2 separate regions of the Homo sapiens genome follow, and region 2 is linked to region 1. Evidence: promoter capture Hi-C in 16 types of primary human blood cells and fetal thymus (Javierre and others, 2016). All regions are on one chromosome and are shown on one strand. Each heading gives the region's core, a stretch centred on a gene start or on the middle of the fragment in contact. The rest is flanking DNA. Distances are from core to core; before and after follow the strand shown.

What was found. Contacts are between HindIII fragments. The CHiCAGO score rates a contact against its expected background, and 5 or more counts as called.
Region 2: a fragment that was not itself captured here is called in contact with the fragment with the promoter of FTX in region 1 in 1 of 17 cell types (naive CD8 T cells); the score reaches 7.1 in naive CD8 T cells.

What each region holds. Positions count from the first base shown.
Region 1 is chrX:74,289,634-74,294,899 of GRCh38, forward strand. FTX (FTX transcript, XIST regulator) reads right to left here and starts at 3,941. Exons shown (of 7, transcript NR_028379.1): 1 at 3,719-3,941. LOC124905199 (a long non-coding RNA gene) reads right to left here and starts at 2,963. Exons shown (of 2, transcript XR_007068266.1): 1 at 2,125-2,963; 2 at 1-797. RefSeq lists enhancers at 822-1,613, 2,405-3,195. The HindIII fragment of the contact is 8,135 bases long and covers 3,036-5,266 here.
Region 2 is chrX:73,578,912-73,584,057 of GRCh38, forward strand. All of the region lies in intron 2 of CHIC1 (cysteine rich hydrophobic domain 1), which reads left to right. Among named protein-coding and RNA genes, the nearest start is that of CHIC1, 18 kb to the left of the region's middle. The HindIII fragment of the contact is 1,572 bases long and covers 2,752-4,323 here.

The DNA.
Region 1 (5,266 bases), core at 2,691-5,190:
AAATGAAAAGATATTCATTACATAATTTAAAATACTGAAAATCTGTAAAATACTTCCATACAACAGAACATCATGAAACAATGACAATTACAAAGAATGTTTAACATGGACATGCGCATGTTATAATGTTAAAAACAAAACACAATATAAAATAGTACACATATATTATCAACTGCAAAGAAAAATGCAGAGAATGAAGTGAATAAATGTATTAACAATAGTTATCTCTGGGTGGTAAAATCATGGATGTTTTTTCTCCCATGCTTGATAGTTACCCTCAGGCAAAGTTACAATATTTACCAAATTTCTAGACTGAGGGAGCTATTCAAATTTAAACAATAGAATAAAAATCACAAAATAGAAGATAAATTTGTCAAATAATTTCAAATCTCTACTAGCCAAAAATTTAAAGACAAAAATTAAGAGGCAAACAATAACATGGAGTAGGTATTTATAACATTACAAAAGTCTGAATACTAATCTTTATTTACAGAACACAAACAGATAATAATAAACAGTAAACTAAAACTTCAACGCATAAATCAACATAAGATATGAACTATCATTACATGAAAGAAAACTGCTGAGATATATATGGAGGAAGAAAATCCAAACTAATAGGCAAACGAAAAATTAATACTGGTTTTTATCCATTAAAAATTAAAAAACAACAACATTCAGCGCTTGTATGAGTAAAAATTGATACAACCTTTTTAGGAAGAAATTTGGCAATAGATACTGAGAGTTTAAAATGTTCATACCCTTTGATGTACTAACTCCACTTCCACGAATGTATCCTAAGCAAATAATAAAAATAAAACAAATGTATTTTCAGTCTTTTATTACAAGAAAAAAGACAATAACCTTTCCATCACTATTGTATATTTAGATCAACACGAAATACTAATAATGGGTTAAAAAAAAAACTACTGCAGTAAATGACTGGTTAGATGTCTCAAAGCATTAGATCAGACAGAAAATCAGGCAAAACAAGAAGGGTGTGTCCAGCCTGCCGCAGTCGGCCATTTTAGACCCTCTGCAGAACAAAAAGCACAGAAAACAAGGGTAGTTAAGGATAGCCACCCCACTAGGCACCAAATCAACAATTCTTTATCTTTTGTCTCCTAGGTATGTAACCCTGTAGTCTGCACAGTCAGAAACAGAAAACAGGTCTTCTTTCTCAAATGGTTTTGGTTAGTTACAAACAAATTTTGAAATCATAAAAGAAGGTTCCTTTAAATTCGCCCCCTCTTTTTAGGGAATAAAGCATAATGCTTAAAAGCACATGCTTCTGGAGCCATCCCACCTGGATAAAAACCCAGTCTCAGCCATTCAACTGGCTGTAAAGCCTTGAACAAATTAGTCTCGTGTCCCTCAAATTTCTCATTTGTATAAACTTAATAACAGTACTGTGTTTCGTAAGATTGTCGAGAGTACCAAATGAGTTACGGCCTATGTAAAAGCACGCAGACCAGAACCTCGAACGTAGTAAGTGCTATTGACGTTTAATCATTATTACAGATAGAGAAATAGGCCCAGCAGCCGGGCGTGGTGGCTCACGCTTGTAATCCCAGCACTTTGGGAGGCCAAGGCGGGCGGATCACATGAGGCCGGGAGTTCGAGACCAGCCTGGCCAACATGGCAAAACCCCGTCTCTACTAAAAACACAAAAATTAGCCGGGCGTGCGCGCACCTGTAACCCCAGCTACTACTTGGGAGGCTGAGATATCAGAATCGCTTGAACCCGGGAGGCGGAGGTTGTAGTGAATTGAGATCGCGCCACCGCACTCCAGCCTGGGCGACGGAGCAAGACTCTGTCTAAAAGTAAATAAATAAATGAGCGAGAGAGAGAAATAGGCCCAGAGAAGGAAAAGGACCACCATGAAATAATAGCTAGGATTACTGGGAAAAGATGTTTTTTTCAGTTTTTAATCCTGTGCTCCTTCTAACTATGTCTGTATCTAAGTGCTAACTTACTAGTTTTAGCGATTAACAGCAAGTCTTCAGAGAGTCATGACAGTACATCTGCCTTTAAAATAGAAACTCTAATCTTCTCCCTTGACAAAACCGTGCTGAAAGTTCTACAGAAGAAAAAATAAAGGAAAGGGTGAAAGCCCAGGTTACCTTCATACCACCACTGCCATTAACTACTTTTCAATCTTTCTCCACGACAGTATGAGTCCCAGGCAGCCATAGGTCCAAATTCCAGGTTTACGGCAAAGAGTAACAAGCATTTGGAAACACATCCAAATCCTCACGCCTATGTTCTCAGGGAAGAAAATCAAGAGCTTTCGGCCAACATTAACATTGGATTCTCACACTACAACCACAGTGTTTTGCTACTCTGATGGGGTGACTGTATTCAGAGCCAAGTACAGCGACCCAAGATCGGAAAGCCAGAGAGCCCTCCGAATGCGTACTGCCCAAATGTGGCCTGTCTCCAAGTGCTCCCTTTTTACGCATTTCCTACGCACCGCCAGCTGCCGCAACCTTTTGCAGAGTCATCATCGCCTCCTCATTTTTGTACCCACTTACCGATAGGCCACTGAGAGGCTAAGATTCTGGGTTAATTTCTAGTGGATCTGGCCACAGCATAGGAGAACTCCAACTCAGGTTGATCCCTTCACTCAGCTAAAAAGGTAGTTCTCTGCAAGGCCTGCTAGCCCAAGATGGCCAAGCAAAGACAGCTTACCTCCCCCCTCGCCATTTTGCAACCTTAATTACCCGAATGCTGAGCGCCTCCCCTCCCCGGCACTCCGTCTGAAATACGCATGCGCGCCGCTTCCTCCTTACCGTTCTCCCCAACCATCCAGATGTTGTCTCAAATATGCATGAGCGCCACCTCTACCTCCCAAACGCTGGTACCAACTCCTAGCAACTTTGCGTTGTTAAATATGCCTGCGAGTCCTTCACTTCCCGACCTTCCAACCCTCCAACCCCGACGCCATTCAAGCCTTGCGCATGCGTGCCTCCCTCTCCCCACCCCCGCCCCACTGGAGCCCGTCCCCTTAACTCAGGTCTTCTCAAATACTGTAAGCTTGAGCGCCGCCCCTCGGCGCCGCGCCTCCTCATCCAGCCTCTCAAATACCCTGCGCACCGCGATAGTCCTCTCTCTTCTTGCTCCCATTTGTATACAGTATGCATGCCTGATGCTATCTGGACGTGTTTCTCGCCACAATTCTGCCCCAGTGCCCAAGGAGAGCCATTACCAGCCTTCCCTAATGCGAGTAGATGCGATAAACTAGGGAAGTTGAATCGGGGAAAGAAGGCGTTGCAGGTGATCAGAGTGAATCCCAGATCTAGATGGAATCGGTCCCAACTCCAAGGGAGGGGGCTAGAGTACCCCAGGATTCACATAAGACCGGTCAACCTGAACAAAGGCAAGGAAAACTTTCACAAACCATCGGATGAACATAATCCTAAGGCCTCGCCCTTTAAATACATCTGCTACAAATGACGAACCACAAATGTTTTAAACAGGGAACATTATGGAAAACACCGATGCTCAGGTGCCTTGACTCTAGTTAGAGGAAAGGAACCCGCATTCCTTTCACAATGGGAAGCAAATGCTCAACATCCTTTTGGAAAACTGGGGCCTGTAACGTATTCCATTTTTTCCTCCCGTGAACTGGAAAAATGCACAAATTAAGGATCTTCCTGGCCCAAGTTCCCTCCGCCGCCCTCCATGTTCTGTTCTTCCCCTACATCGTTCCTTTACCTCCTGGTTGAATTCAGTGTCGTAGCAGGAATTCTTAGAGCTGGCCGTCCCAAGATGGGGTGGAGAGAGCGGCATGAAAGAGAGAGAGAGAGAGAGACACGCCTGAATGGCAGCAGCAGGCCTTAGCGGCAATGGACAGCAGGCACAGGACCAGCTTTGCCTCGAGCCGCAACGCTGATGCCAGAAAAGGACAACCTCTCCAGAATCGCCGCAGTGTGCTTCCAGCGCATGCGCTGCTAACGCCCCTTAACCCCCCCTCCGCGCCCCGCCTCCCCCACGCGCCGCTCTCCAGCCTCTAGGAGTCTAACCCTTAGCGGTCCACCGACCTCCTTCACTTCTTTCCCAGGACGCTATCCCACTCTGCTTCTTCCACCTTTCCCCTCCCCTCGGTCACACTGGCCTCCACCATCATCCCTCCCTCAGCCCATACTTCTTTCGTCAATCCCTCTCCCATTATTCTTAGCCCACCATCTACCTTTATTTCCTCTGCTATCGTTAGTGGTCTACCCTTCAATTCTTCACTTTCCCTGCCAGTCTGCAGCCCTCTTGGGCCTCTTACTCCTCTCCTCCTATGCCTGATGTTGAAATTTGTAAAAATTACCGCAAAAATTTTTTTTTAAATAATTGTAGCCCGGGCGCGGTGGCTCACACCTGTAATCCCAGCACTTTGGGAGGCCGAGGTGGACGGAACCCTTGAGTTCAGGAGTTCGAGACCAGCTCGGGTGACATGGCGAAACCCCGTCTCTACAAATAAATACAAAAATTAGCCGGGCGTGGTGGTGCGCACCTGTACTCCCAGCTATTCAGAAGGCTGAGGTGGAAGAATCACTCGAGCCCAGGAAGTCGAGGCTACAGTGAGCTATGATTGTGCCAGCTATGATGTTGCCAGCCTGGGCAACAGAGTGAGACCCCATCTCAAAAAAAGAAAAAAAATATTTCCACACATCCTCTCCAAAGCAGCTCTCAGGGTGAGCTCAACCAGCCTGTCTTGGGCAAAGAGAACACCTTTTTGATGATGACCCACAGGGAAGATCCAGAGACAGGGAACCAGAACAAAAACTGCAAAAGTGTTCAATCAATTTGGGGGTAAGAGGCAGTAGACCACCAACATGGAAAGCTCTTTTCTTTCTATTCACAACCCTGGTATTGTCTGGACATTAAAAATGAGATTCAATGTCCTTCACTGCTTACTACAAGGCCTGTTCTTGTCTTCTGTAAGAACTCAAATATTAATTTTGAGGGAAATGGCATTATTTACTTAAGAGGCTCTGAAATAGATCCCTCTTTGGGTGTGAACTAGAAAGAATACAAAATAATATTTTGTTTCTCTTTATTATGTTTTACTTTGGTGTCTGGTTCTTATTGCTTTCTAAAAGAGCCAGTTTGGAAATACCAAAAACTGAGACCCGCAAATTCATAAATCCTAAAACTCATAAACTTATACATCACCATCCTCTCAAATTAACTTAAGAATGTTATATCAACATTATTCAGAGAAAAATGGGTTTGCATTTGTTATATAATACGCCCAAAAAATTATACAACAAT
Region 2 (5,146 bases), core at 2,288-4,787, 710 kb before region 1:
AGATAAGATGCTTCTACTGATATTTGCTTCTTTCTGTCATGGATTTTCCAACTATGTACTCTTTTTGCTTTTGGCGTAATCACAATCTTCCCCCCAGCCTCTTTGCAGGGTAGACAGCAGACCTATTTCTTTTTTCAAGGAATATCTTTGAAATCATAAGAAATTCTGTTTAATTTAACCCTGCAAGGTATGTTACACTTTATTTGCCTCATTTTCCCCTTGAAAAATTGGAGGTAGCTTGAGACAGAATATAGTAGTTAAACAAGCTTTGCAGTCAAATCTGGGTTGGAATCCAGGTTATGTCACTTACTGTGTGGCCTTGTGCAAGTCACTTCTCTGAGCCTGTTCTTATGTGAAAAATAGAGATGATGCTGATAGTTACCTCACTTTTTAAGAGCTAAATGAGACAGCATATATAAAATTCCTAGTATTTTGTCATGTACTTATTAGCTTCCCAATGTTAGTTTGTAGTTGCAGTTGACTATTCTTCATCATTGTATTGTAGTTTCACCCTGGTTGCTTTTCATTCTACTCACTGGCTTTCAATTTTTCATTGCTTTTGCAAATTTTCTTCATCTAATTCTAAGAGAATACATTATTATTCTCTGGCCTCACCACTAATTTGTTCTGTTGACTGTTGACCTTTTCTGTCTCTCCTGAGGTATAATATCAAATCATTTCACAGAATACTAAACAGGTGATCATAGTTCCTGGCTAAGTTAGCCTTAGAGAATATGTGGCCATTTAACATTTTAGGACACAAAGAACCCTTTGGTGTGAGATTTTGGCTCACTCTTTAGTACGTTCTACCTTCCTATCCTGATCAATTGGAGTAATTTACCAATTGAAGCGGCAGCCTATACTTAGATTTGTTTTATATGAATTAATCATAAATGTTTTTTCAAATGAATAAAGTAGCTATGGAAATATATCTTGAATAATAGTGTATTTTTGTAGAAAGATGGCAAATTCATTATTAAAATTAAAGAGAATGTGAATTATAAGAACTTCAGTAAAAAACTTATTCTTCATGTTTCCTTTGATGCTGCTGCATGTGTTGTAGGTGTAGTTATATCCAACTTTACCATTGGCTTTGAAATACAGGTCCAAGAAATTCTAGAAATGAATAATCAAAAAAATATGTCAGTGTATAAAATTCCCAGGCATACAAATTATCCATTTTCAAAATTGGCCAATTTTATATGCTCAAGGAATCTTCAGAATATCTTTTCACACCTTCTCATTTCTTTACAAGCCTTCTGAAACTAAAAATTCCAGTGGCCCCAAAGGTAGTAGACTGTTTTAAACTAGAGGAGTAAGAATAATAAGCTGCTTTTGGTATGCACTCACACAACCTAAATTATCTGGATATGAGCTGCTCATAAATATATCCATTCTTTTCAAGTGATTGTTTTTGTAGCACATTGTCATAATGACTTGAGTATTTAAGTGTACATTATGTATAGTGTACAAAATCTATCATGTGTTGGATAAGGCATAAATTATAACTGTGATATTTTTCTTAGCATGTGTTTGGTGATGGGAAAAACACTAAAAGGAATTCTGAAGATCTGATTTAAAAGTCACATGGTGGTAACATTAGCTTTATTCATTTTCTCATTAATGAGATAATTTTTCTCCGACAGGCACTTTCATTTGTTTAGGTTCCTTTGCATTATCAAAATGCTTCTCAGATAACTGGAGAGAAAAGGCAAACATAATTAATGTATATCTGAGGAAAAAAATAAAAGAAAAAAGGTCTAAATTCCAGACTTAACAGCTCTTACATTAAAATATTTTAAAATGAATAACTGTGATAGCTAAAGTAGAAAAAAAATCTACCTTTTATGAAATCAGTCTTCCAATATGAATGTGATTCTAAATAGCTTTTATGCCTGCCTGATGCCTGAGCTAAGCAAAATTGCAGAGGGAAGTCTGAAAACCTAAAAAAACCATTTTGACAAGCTCTGTAGCTCAATATTAATTTTTTGCTTCTTATGTGTTAATGCTTTTAATGCAAACAAAAAGATGACCTTTTATATTAAGTGCAGAAAAGATTGTTTTCCCTATTTCATATCGAACAGATGTATATACACAGATTCTAGTGACCAGAAAAGGGAAGAACCACAGAAATTTAGAAAAGAAAGTAAAGCTTTTGGCCCTCAGCTTGAAACAATTAAACTGTGTTATGGGGAGACTAGTGTGCAGTGTTTGGGGATTGTAAGCAATAAAAACCGACCTTTACTATTGTGTTACAGTATGACAGCTGATTGATAGGGTTGTGTTCCCCATGACTGAAGAAGGCAGATCAGTCCTGCTGCGGTTTGCTTAGAGTTTCTTCTGTTTACAGAGTCTCTTGCATCCTGTTATAAAATATTATGACCCTTTACCCCACCTTTATGGTGTGGTTTTCTTTTTTCATTCCAAGAAAGCCAAAAGAAATGAAATGTTTCTTTACAACCTACTGTTCAGCTAGAAAGTAAGGGTCTTCTGCTGTCTAACCTTCATTGCTAGAGACACTCAATTATATGAAAGTAAATGAGTAAAATGTTAACTCTGATTCTACACAGTTAACTAAACATTTCTTTCACGTTGTTTAAAATTGAGTTTACTAATTCTCACTTCTTATGTCTTTAGCTCTGTTTTATGACTTTTACTGTTGCTCAGATACAGATTTCTTTCAAAGACAATCCTGGTCTCCTTTTAAAGTCAAAATGCAGATTTTAGTTTATTGTTTGAAACTCTAGTAAAAGCTTTTCTTTTCAATATATTTGTCTTATGACCTCAAAAAAAATTTGAATTCTCATTTTTAGTAACTTGAATATTTTAGTTTTTAATTCGTCTATGGTAAGAAAATAGAAATTGAGACCATTATATGTTAAAAAGAAGAAAGTGTTGGCAGGAAAGAAGGAAAATGACCACATTTTTAGGTAATGTTTTTGTTTTCAATTCCAGAAGCATATAATAAAAGGCAAATTTTATAACAAATTTTATATACCTCAACATACAATTTATTTTATTCACAGTGTTTGAAATAAAAAGCTATTTTCTCTTCCCTCTTTTATTCTCTAGCTTTTGTCTCCCTCAGTCTTCTAACACTATTTCATCCCTGGTAGAAGTGGAGCTTTCTTTTCTAAGGCTCCTTATAAACAATTTTTTTTTTCTTTTGGACTGACTCATTTCTGCACCTTTTGGTTTTATTTTTTTTCCATCTGTGTTTGTACTTACTTTTTAAATAAAAATGTAAATTCCAATTATAAGCATTTAAATTTGTAAATGGACAGATTTAATAATTTTATGATTTGCATGAGTTTATATCAAAATTTACCATATTTAAAAATATGTTAGCTATTCTGGATACATAATTTAAAGAGAGTTGACAGTAATGTAATATTACAGATTAAAGCTAAATATGTTCATATTTTTTCTTTATTTTAACTTCTATTTGGTTGCCCAATGATTCCCTAGGAGAAAAGAAGTTGAATATTGCTGTTGGAGAGGTAAATCTTAAGATAGAAACTTGGTACCTTGTTTTTAGAAAGAAGAGCTTGATTTTTCTTTTTTTTTTGCTGAAGAATTAAAGAGCATTGAATCTGCATTTAACATGCAGCAGATTATAAACAAATTATCCTTTTGTTTATAATGTAGTATATAGGAAAACTATGGAATATTAATAGTTACTTGAGTAAACCCATTGCCTTCAGGTGAGACTTCATGCAGAAGAGAGCTGTTTCTTTTCTTTCTCCAAACCTTCTCAGAGACATGATTTATGGACTTTCTTTTTCAAAGCATTTCAGGCAGGAGGTTACTTCCAAGGATTAATTTACATTTTCTGTGAAGTATATAAAACAAAGATTATTATTCTCATTTTATCGGTGGGAAACTGAAACTCAGAAAAATTAAATGAATTTGCCTAGGATTTTTCATAGCTAATAAGTAACTATAATTCAAGTCTCTCGATCTGTTTTTCAGTGTTTTTAGTTTGTCTTAGTTTAATGTGCTTAGTGCACTCTTGTGCACTAAGTTTGTTAGTGTTTTCTAATTTCAATTATAAGGCAAGGCTGTGTGAATTTGTTTTCATATTTACTTAGAAATTTTGCCATTTAATTGGAATTCTTTGCACCCAGTGATTGTCTTTACATCATGTTGCTGACAGTCTAGATGGAGAATGAAATTAGTTTACTTGCTCTGTGTAAACACAGTTTTGAGCCTTATAATTTCACAACTATTGTTTGTTAACATATTAGTAAGAAAATCAGATTCATGGGCTAAGCAATTAACCTTATTGAGTGACATGAACAATTCTAATAAAACTTCTAATAAAGCTTATATATGTAATGTTTAGCTTACTTTAGTGCTGAATTATGTGATCATGTATTTTTATAACATTTGCTAATAGGTATATGTTTTGTAGTGTTGATTCTAAGACATCTCTATTAAGAGACAAAAATGTAATAAATTGATTCCTCGAGTACAATTTTTATTTGGAATAGTAGTAGTAAAGCTCTATATTTTTGATTCCTAACCTGCTAATGCGGTTTTTATTTTATAATACCTTACTTTTCCTAACCATTGCCTAATTTTTGCTTTTATAGCCAGATGCTAAATGTTCTTTCATAAACTTTATAGTCTGACAGCTTTCTAAATGAAAGGGAATCATTTTTGTAATCTAGAAATGTGATTTCACTGAAAGCAAACTATTTTTAGTATATGTTTGAATTGTATAACATTCAAGCAGAATTTTTGGTATAAATCTAATTATTCCAGTCATGTGCATGCCTTTGAACTGACTTTGTCCTTGTTTACAGAGAAGCACAAGCAGCCACTTCCAAGAATGGAGGTAGTAACTAGAAATATTAAACTTGTGTATTTAAAGACCTTTCAACTTTAAAAGTTTACCGCAGTTATGAATCCATTTTATACTGAATATTAACAGGCTGTTTTGAATGCAATCACTAGGCATTGTCTTTTGTTAGTGTAACTAACAGTGGCTAATGTTAAAATTGTTATATTGCAAATTTGCCAGGGAATAAGGGTTTGAGAGTTGCCTTTTTTCAAAGTAATCCAGGAGTATTGCCAAGGTCTAATTTTAATTGCATTTTCTCTAGTAGTATTTGGGTTTTTTATTGTTGTGTTATGCTTCTAG